2 separate regions of the Homo sapiens genome follow, and region 1 is linked to region 2. The links are contacts of gene promoters, found by promoter capture Hi-C in blood cells and fetal thymus (Javierre and others, 2016). All regions are on one chromosome and are shown on one strand. Each heading gives the region's core, a stretch centred on a gene start or on the middle of the fragment in contact. The rest is flanking DNA. Distances are from core to core; before and after follow the strand shown.

The links. Contacts are between HindIII fragments. The CHiCAGO score rates a contact against its expected background, and 5 or more counts as called.
Region 1: a fragment that was not itself captured here is called in contact with the fragment with the promoter of STOM in region 2 in 1 of 17 cell types (neutrophils); the score reaches 5.4 in neutrophils.

Annotation. Positions count from the first base shown.
Region 1 is chr9:121,110,902-121,114,889 of GRCh38, reverse strand. CNTRL (centriolin) reads right to left here. Exons shown (of 44, transcript NM_007018.6): 9 at 2,312-2,431; 10 at 1,166-1,388. Among named protein-coding and RNA genes, the nearest start is that of CNTRL, 38 kb to the right of the region's middle. The HindIII fragment of the contact is 7,260 bases long and covers 1-3,988 here.
Region 2 is chr9:121,368,885-121,373,085 of GRCh38, reverse strand. STOM (stomatin) reads left to right here and starts at 2,836. Exons shown (of 7, transcript NM_004099.6): 1 at 2,836-2,959. The coding sequence starts at 2,899. It overlaps LOC102723324 (a long non-coding RNA gene), which reads right to left and starts at 3,193. Exons shown (of 7, transcript NR_187160.1): 1 at 3,120-3,193. RefSeq lists enhancers at 2,322-2,411, 1,871-2,831. The HindIII fragment of the contact is 8,041 bases long and covers 1-4,201 here.

The sequences.
Region 1 (3,988 bases), core at 302-2,801, 260 kb after region 2:
TATGGTATAGAACTATAATTGATCCTTTTATTTGTAAAATTCTCAACATGAAAGGGGCTATTCCCAACACTAGTAAACCCTTTTGAGAGAATAAGACTTTTATTGGGAAATATGCACTTTACATGTTACTAAGTTATAATTAGGTTCAGGATATTAAAAATAACCCATAAAACCTTGTGTTAGAGGCAAATGCTTTATGATGGAATTCAATATCAAGAAATTCACTACTGAGCTCTCTCTCCCAGCTGTTGATGATCTCAAATCAATTATTTTCAACCTCAAATTTAAGATTTCTCTCTCCCTCTGTCCTATAAAACTATGAGCCAGCCCCTTTAAAGCTAGTCTGCATAAAAATCTGATTTATTTTTGCTTTCCCCCAGAGCCTTGCATATAGTATACGCAGACATAAATAACTCAGTTTCTTTTCTTCCTTCACCAAGTCAACCTCTATTTGCCTTCCATGCCTTCCACTTAGCTACCAGTCAAGGAAAGATAAGCCGCTGGTCTGACTGAGAGCACCACAGTGGGCCATAATGCTGGGGGGATGCACAAACCCTGGTCAGAGTTCTCTTTCTTCCATATCCATGCAGCTGAGTGGGTAAATAGATTCAAAGTCTGTCATTGGCAGGGTCTCTAAAGTGTCCCCCTGCCTTGACTTATTCCTTTATGTGACTTGCCAGAAGGTATTAAGATCCCTTGAATTAGATTGTGGGGCATGGGGCATGTCAGGAAAAGTCAGAGGCTAGCCTTCGGCCCAGGCCTGAGGAGAATGCTCTGTTGCAGCTTATACAAAGCATTGCTTTAGGTTTTTGCTACATGCATAGTAATCAATCAAGTGGTTCTTTACTTGCTTCAGTTATTACTAATTGTGACTTCGAATATATAGTTCCAGTGCTTATTTGAAGGAGGGGATTTACTCATTCTTGAATCCCCTGGACATGCTGCCATCAAATTACTGCCAAAAACTCCATTCTTAACCATAACAGGAATCATTACAAAATAAATGCTCGATAAATCTGCTTGATAATCACTACTTTTGTTTTAGACTTTTCATGGAAACAATACCATCAACATGTTCAATTAAAAGACTTATAAAACAAAATTGGCCTACATATTCAATGTTTTCATATTTTTTTTTAAAGAATTTAAAATAACTTTTTTTAACCTGCACTTATTTTTTTTTCTTTGTCTTCCAGTTGCGTGTCCAGTGGTGTGTGGCCTCTCAAGTTCATGTGATCATTTCTAAGTTGTTCATCTGGCTCCATCTTCTTGATCTGTACTGCCTGAGCACTGTCAATAATATAACTCTCTGTGGCAAACATATTTCTCTTGTATCTGGATTTGCCAATGTAAGGGCTTTCATCTGGGGCTTTATCAATTTCAGCATACTAAAAGCAAAATAATAGATTTATGGTTTAATAAGTGATCTCCAAGCAGTCAAATGACATTATTCATTTTATTAGTGGCAAACATATCACAGAATTGCTCAAGTTTATATAAATTCTACATGCCTAGGAGCTGAAAGATATATATTATTCTTTTATCTTCTTCTTAATATACCAAAAAAGGAAATTAGAACTAAAAATGGTCTCAAAAGAATTCTTCCTCTTACCACAGAAGAGTGAAAGTTTGGACTGATTGATTAAAGAACTGCCTACAGTTATGTGATTTTTAGCACTGCTTGATCTCTCAAATTAGAAATATGGGTGTTTTATTTTGGTTTCTTGGCTCATATAAATAAAATCTCAGTCTAATATTTTTTTCAGATACATGGTGTGTAGCCATCAGTATAATATATTTTAATAATTGAATTTTTAAAAATGAAATATCATATGATATTGGTTGGAATCACTGGGTCTTAGAAGTTTGGCATTTCCTCACTTGCAGTGACATTTATGGCATTTGTACCAGTCATGATTGATTAATACTGAACCCAGTAATTACTGAACAAACCATGTAAGGGGATGACTATTCCATGGTACTGAAGCACTTTTCCCAGAAGTCTGGATTTAAAGGAGCTGATCAACCCATACACCTGGGAAAGATAGCTGCGAGTTAGACGACTGCTTTTGGTAATGGATATGGCTATGGGCAAAGATTCTTTTGAAGTTTTTTACCTCTTTAGGATTCTGTTCTAACTCCCGGAGCCAAATAAGTCATAGATTGAACCAAAATACAGTTTAATCCTCTCATAACAAGAAAGTGGAGTGATATCTGATCAAATCCCTTACATGTCCTCACCACCTGCCCTCCCCCATTCCATCCCATGTGGGCTTTAACTTTGGATTACTAAAAAATTAAAATAACTCACCTCTGATGGATAATAATTTAGTGGCTCAAATTTAGCATCAATTTTATAAAAGGCCAATTCCTGTTCCAGCTCATATTGCTTCTGACATGCTCGTGTTAATTCTATGGTCTTCTGTTTTAGCTATTGGCCCAATTTGATATGAGACAACATACAGGATCAGTAAGTTAGTATAAAGGTGTGATGATATGGTAAGTTCTCATCGTAAGTTATAATCATATATGTTTAAAAACTTCACAGTAAGCTGCACAACACTCAGAACATTTTATCTTACTTCTAAATTATAAAAAATGAAATACAAAATTATTATTTCATCAGAGATCATGTAAAAGACCTTTGAAGTTTATCTGCTGCTTCACGATATAATGAATAATGATTTTAAAAATCACTTAAATTTGTTAAACATGAAAATATTTTTGTATCAATTATTTTTGTGTAACTGGCCTAATAAATACCTGCTTCCTGATTTTCCAATAATTAGCACTAATTTCTTAAACTGACTTTCCGACTTTAACAATAGTTTCAAATTACAAGGGAAAATGATAACTGACATTAACTGCAGAGAAATAAAGAGGAATGAGAAGGATGAAAAGAAGAGCTTGGTTTTAATTGTCATACTGTTGTTGCTGTAGTATTAAGTGTTCAGAATATTATTCTTTGTAATAAAGAATAAGGGATGTGAATAAGCTCAACCAGATCCAAATATGTAATATTCAATTTTAATAAAGTAATTCTACTATAACTTTTTATTCTTAGAAATTTTTGGAGCTTGGAGAAGACAAATGATCCAATCTAATTCTCTGAATTTATAAATACAGAAATTAAGTCTCAGATTGATGAACTGACTTGTCTAAAGTTACATATTAGATCAGTGTCAGAAACTAAATATTTTATTAACTAACTACTAGTACTAGCTCCTTTCTACTAAACCAAACTTTGAGTTTATTTCAAAGATCCACTAAGTGATTTTTGTCTTTTTTTGGCCAGTATCTGATGGTAGATATCAAAGAAAAAACATGCAGAAAAATTTCATTAATATAAAAGTGCAAGCTGAAGAGAATAAAACATAAACAAACACAAACATTTTACAAGGCCCAGGAAATCAAAGTCGTGCATGATTTAGCTCACAGTCACCTCCTGATTATCCATCAAAATGGAAGTAATAGCCTAGATAATGGGTAACATTGAGCCAAATACTCAATGTGTGCCAGACATTGTGCTAAGCATTTTACATATGTTATTGCACTAAATCTTCACAACCACCCAATAAGATGATAAAAGCTGCACAGAGAAGTTAAATAACTTGCCCAATTTCACAGCTGGTAGTGGAAGAGGCAGAATTCAATTCCAAGTCTCCTGATTTCAAATCCAATACTGCCTATTCTTCCATGCTGCCTTCGATGTACTGCTGCAGGGTGTCCAGCACATTACCCACATTGATATTTTCACTGAATGATCATAAGTCTCCGAGTCTCAAGAAAGCAACTCACAATCAACACTGTCAACTAATCTTGGGTTCTCTCCTCAAAACTCATTGGCAATAGTGGCAAACAACAGGCAAATGTGACTGGAATCACAGAGAATACATGAACTGGTCTCTGCAGGCAAATAATAATAAATAGGCTGTGCATTTCAAAGTACTTTTGTGACTTTTATAAGCCCCAGGCTTAGCATATTGTA
Region 2 (4,201 bases), core at 1,587-4,086:
TAACACCTGTTGTGTCTGCTCCCGTTTCCGTCCTGATAGTCACAAAGCTCCAGAGCTGTAAAATCAGAGAGAAAGTCTACCATTTCATATGACCTAAGCACCACAAGGTGTTGGGTAGTACACAGCCAAATATTGAGCACATTAAGAAAGAAGTGCTCCTCCTGAGGGAGATCTTTGTGGTAATGGAATAGTTCTGTATCAATTACTGTGGTTATATCAATCTACACATGTTAAAATGGCACAGAACTATAAATACATTTTGTGCCACTGTCAATTTCCTGGTTTTGATACTCTAGTTAAGTAAGACGTAACTATTGGGGGAAACTGGGTAAAGGGGACATGTGACCTCTCTGTACTGTTGTTGCAAATTCCTGTGAATCTGTACTTATTTCAAAATCGAATGTTTTTATAAGTGCACCTTGTGTACATTAACATACTTTGAACATTGTGCAATAGAACAAGTCTAATGCAAACACAGCCTACTTTCCAAATATGAGGTCTTCAGCCACACCCCAAGAGAAGGCCTGAGGTTGGGAATGCCCTTGCACATGCTTTTCCCTCTACCTGGGATACCCTTTCCCACCTCCTGCACCGCTTATTCCCCTTCCCCAGGCTGGCTCCTTCTCATTTCTCAGGCGACATCTCAAAGCCCCTTCCTTACAGAGGTGTTCCCCTGTCCTAACCTTTGCTGTTCTCCGAATATTCCACTCCTTTCACAGCTTCCTTCACCATGTGTAATGATTCAATTACTTGTTTGTGGCCCATCTCCCAACTAGAGTATAAGGTAAACTCCACGAGGCCCTTAGCACACTCCCTGCCACATGGAAGATGCTCCAAGAAGATTTTGTTTGAATAAATGACCCCACCGACTGAATGGACTCCCTTGTGGCCAAGGGGACTCCAGAAAACTTTAAAACTGAGTTCCCAGCCAATGACAGGACAGAAGGTCAGACTCGCCTCATTATAACTTCATCGTATTGGAGTTTAGACACAACAGCTGACCAGCATTAACGTTAAAACACAGATCATAAGACTGACAGAACAGACTGTTTGTGACAATAAGATACCAAATTATAAACAAATTATACCTAAGGTCATGCCAGGCAAAGGTTAAGGCACACATCCCTTCACTTAGAGAATAAACTGTGTTCTAACTGCCACAAGGTTGTTCTCTTTCTCTAGCAGCTTAACAAGCACTGGCCTCGAGATAAGCAATATTAAAACAATTTGCAGCTCCACCAGATGTGGCCTAATGGAACCCCTATTCCACCAGCCATCATTACAGCTTTAATTGGACAAGAGGCTGATTTCAGTAACTTTCTCCTCATAGGAAAACTACCGACCATGGACTGGCTCTGGCTAGTTTACACAGACTGCATACTTGCACACCTTCCTGTCCTGAAAAGACCTTTTGACGCATGGGGTCTAACTGTAATACATGTATTGTTATTATTTTTTAGAGTCCATCAGGCTGGAGTGCAGTGATCTGATCATACATCACTGCAGCCTCCAACTCTTGGGCTCAAGTGATCCTCCTGCCCCAGCCTCCTGACTAGTTGGGACCGCAAGCACACACCACCCCACCTGGCTATTTTTTTTTTACTTTTTGTAGAGATGGGGACGTCACCATGCAGGCCAGGCATTTAACATTTAATTGGTAACTCTTCACTCCAAAATGAACATGGGTTGTATGTTACATGCATGTTTGCTCAATGGGCATGCGTCAGGACCACCCTCATGAATATTCATAGCTCCTCCTGTCACCTGCTGAATATGCATGTCTACCCAAGCTGTTCAGCATAAAGCCGCTACTCCAACCCCTCCTCCAACGAAATGCCTGTCTCTGGTCCTGGCCATTCTCCAGCCTGCGGAATGGCCACCTTGCAGGCTGTAACCCCTTACAAGAAATAAAGTCTCCTCTCCTGTTTTTTTGTTTTTTGTTTTGTTTTTTTGAGACGGAGTCTCGCTCTGTCACCCAGGCCATCTCGGCTCACTGCAACCTCTGCCTCCCAAGTTCAAGCGATTCTCCTGCCTCAGCCTCCCAAGTAGCTGGGATTACAGGCGCGCGCCACACGCCCGGCTAATTTTTGTATTTTTAGCAGAGACGGGGTTTCACCATGTTGGCCAAGCTGGTCTCGAACTTCTAACCTCAGATGATCTACCCGCCTCGGCCTTCCAACGTGCTGGGATTACAGGCGTGAGCCACCGCGCCCGGCCTCCTCTCCTTTTCCAAATTTATACATTTTGATTTTCTTAACACACCTCACTCGAGTTCGTTCACTTCGGCTGCGGCGTGATCTGCCGGCCCTCTCAGCTCAGGCTGACCTCAGCGCCCTCACTTCGGCCACTTCTGTGTCCCTCAGTCTTCTCCCCTCAACTCGGACCTCGCGCCCTCATGACAGGGCGCCATTTTCTTCCCTCTAACTCCTCAGCCCAGAGGAGGCGCCTTGGTCCCGTACCTCTGCCCGGCAAGGCGACTTTTCTTCACTTGCACTTTTGCCTCGGGTCATCCTCTGCTGCTACCTCCCCACTATCCTCACCATCTGCTCCACGTCCCGTGGCTTCCGCCCTCCCTTCCGGTGCAGGGCCCCGGCCTCATACCCACAGCCTTGGGGGCTCTCGCCCCTCAGGCCACGCCCCTCAGGCCACGCCCCTCAGCCCACAGAACTAGCGGGAAGTGACTGCGAAGCAGTCGCGCCGTGGAGGGACAGGAGGGCGGGGATTGGGAGGTGGGTCCTCCTCGATCCTGGGCGTTGATTGGCCAACTCTCACGAGGGCGGGACCTCGATTGGGGGCGGGGCGGCAATCTGGGTCTTGTGCCTCTGGCTCCTCAGGGCATTCCCGGCGGCTCCGGGTTTGGCAACGAGGACGGGGGAGTGCGACTGCGTCTCGGGCAGCATGGCCGAGAAGCGGCACACACGGGACTCCGAAGCCCAGCGGCTCCCCGACTCCTTCAAGGGTGAGTCCCGCGTCCCCTGACCCTCCCCCGTGGACCGAGCCCCCGCCCGCAGCGTGCGCTCCGAGGTCTGACAGCCGGGCTCCTGGCCAGTCTCCGCTGCTTCGGGCTGGGCGAGATCTCAAAGCCGCGGCTCCTCCCTAGTAAACTGAGCATCACGAACCCTGTTTGGCAGACTGAGGTCACGATGGAGGGGTGGCGGGCTGCCAACGGCACGTTTCCCATCGCACGGGCCCTGGTTATCTCGCGGCCGCCAGATGCCAAGCCCCATGCCAGGGCTGCACTATCTCGTGTCACGCACGCGGACTAGGAAACGCAGAGGGAACTGGCAGCCAGCGAGGCGGGGACCGGGACCCCACATCTCACCCTTTGCCCACTCCCCTTCTTTCCCGACTCACTCTCTCGAAGGCCGCCTCCTCCACCCAGCCCTGGCCTGGCCCCAGGGTGAACCCCCTCCTCCCCCAATCCCACCTCCCGAAACTTAGACCGATTTGCAGAAGGAAGAAGTCTCTCTGGCTTTCTTCTTACCTCTCTTTCTAGCTCCACTTTCTGCCCCATTTTTCCCCCTCCGCTTTCCTCTGCGTTTTGGAGAACTCTCCTTCCCGGCTTTTGTTCCTCGCCAGGAACCCTGAGTTCTCCCACCCTCACCCCCACCCTCCCTTCCCAGTCTTCAAGGCAGGAGCTGTAAGTGGCTCAGTCTCGTTCCCCTGTGGAGGAACTGGTACTCTGGGGAGGGGGTTCCAATAAAGAGAGATGGTGGACCTCTCAGGAGTCCTGGTACCCACTCAGGAGCTCTTAGTGATCCAGAGGAATTACAGTGTTTCTAAAGATGGAATTTCAGGCAGGATGGCAGTGAAAGCAATTTAGAGGGCTGGGTGGTCCTTTCCAGGACCCCTCAAAGAACATGACATTGGAGTCATCTATTCTGATTATTTGTAAAGCCAGCTTTATCCACAGCATCTTAGCTATAAGTTCCATTTCCCTTGTCCAGGGATCCCTGTGTTCAGTTCCTTCCCAGGAGCATCAAAGGAATTACAGAAATCTTTATTCCTCACTTTTTGTCTACTAATAACGTTGCAGGTTATCTTCCCAAATGGAGAGTGTAACAGGGAGGAGTTGATGAGAATAATGGCAACCACAACAACAAAAATTGAAACTAAATAGGTCAGGCTCCGTATCACTTTTTTTTTTTTTTTTGAGACGGAGTTTCGCTTTTCTTGCCCAGGCTGGAGTGTGATCTCCGCT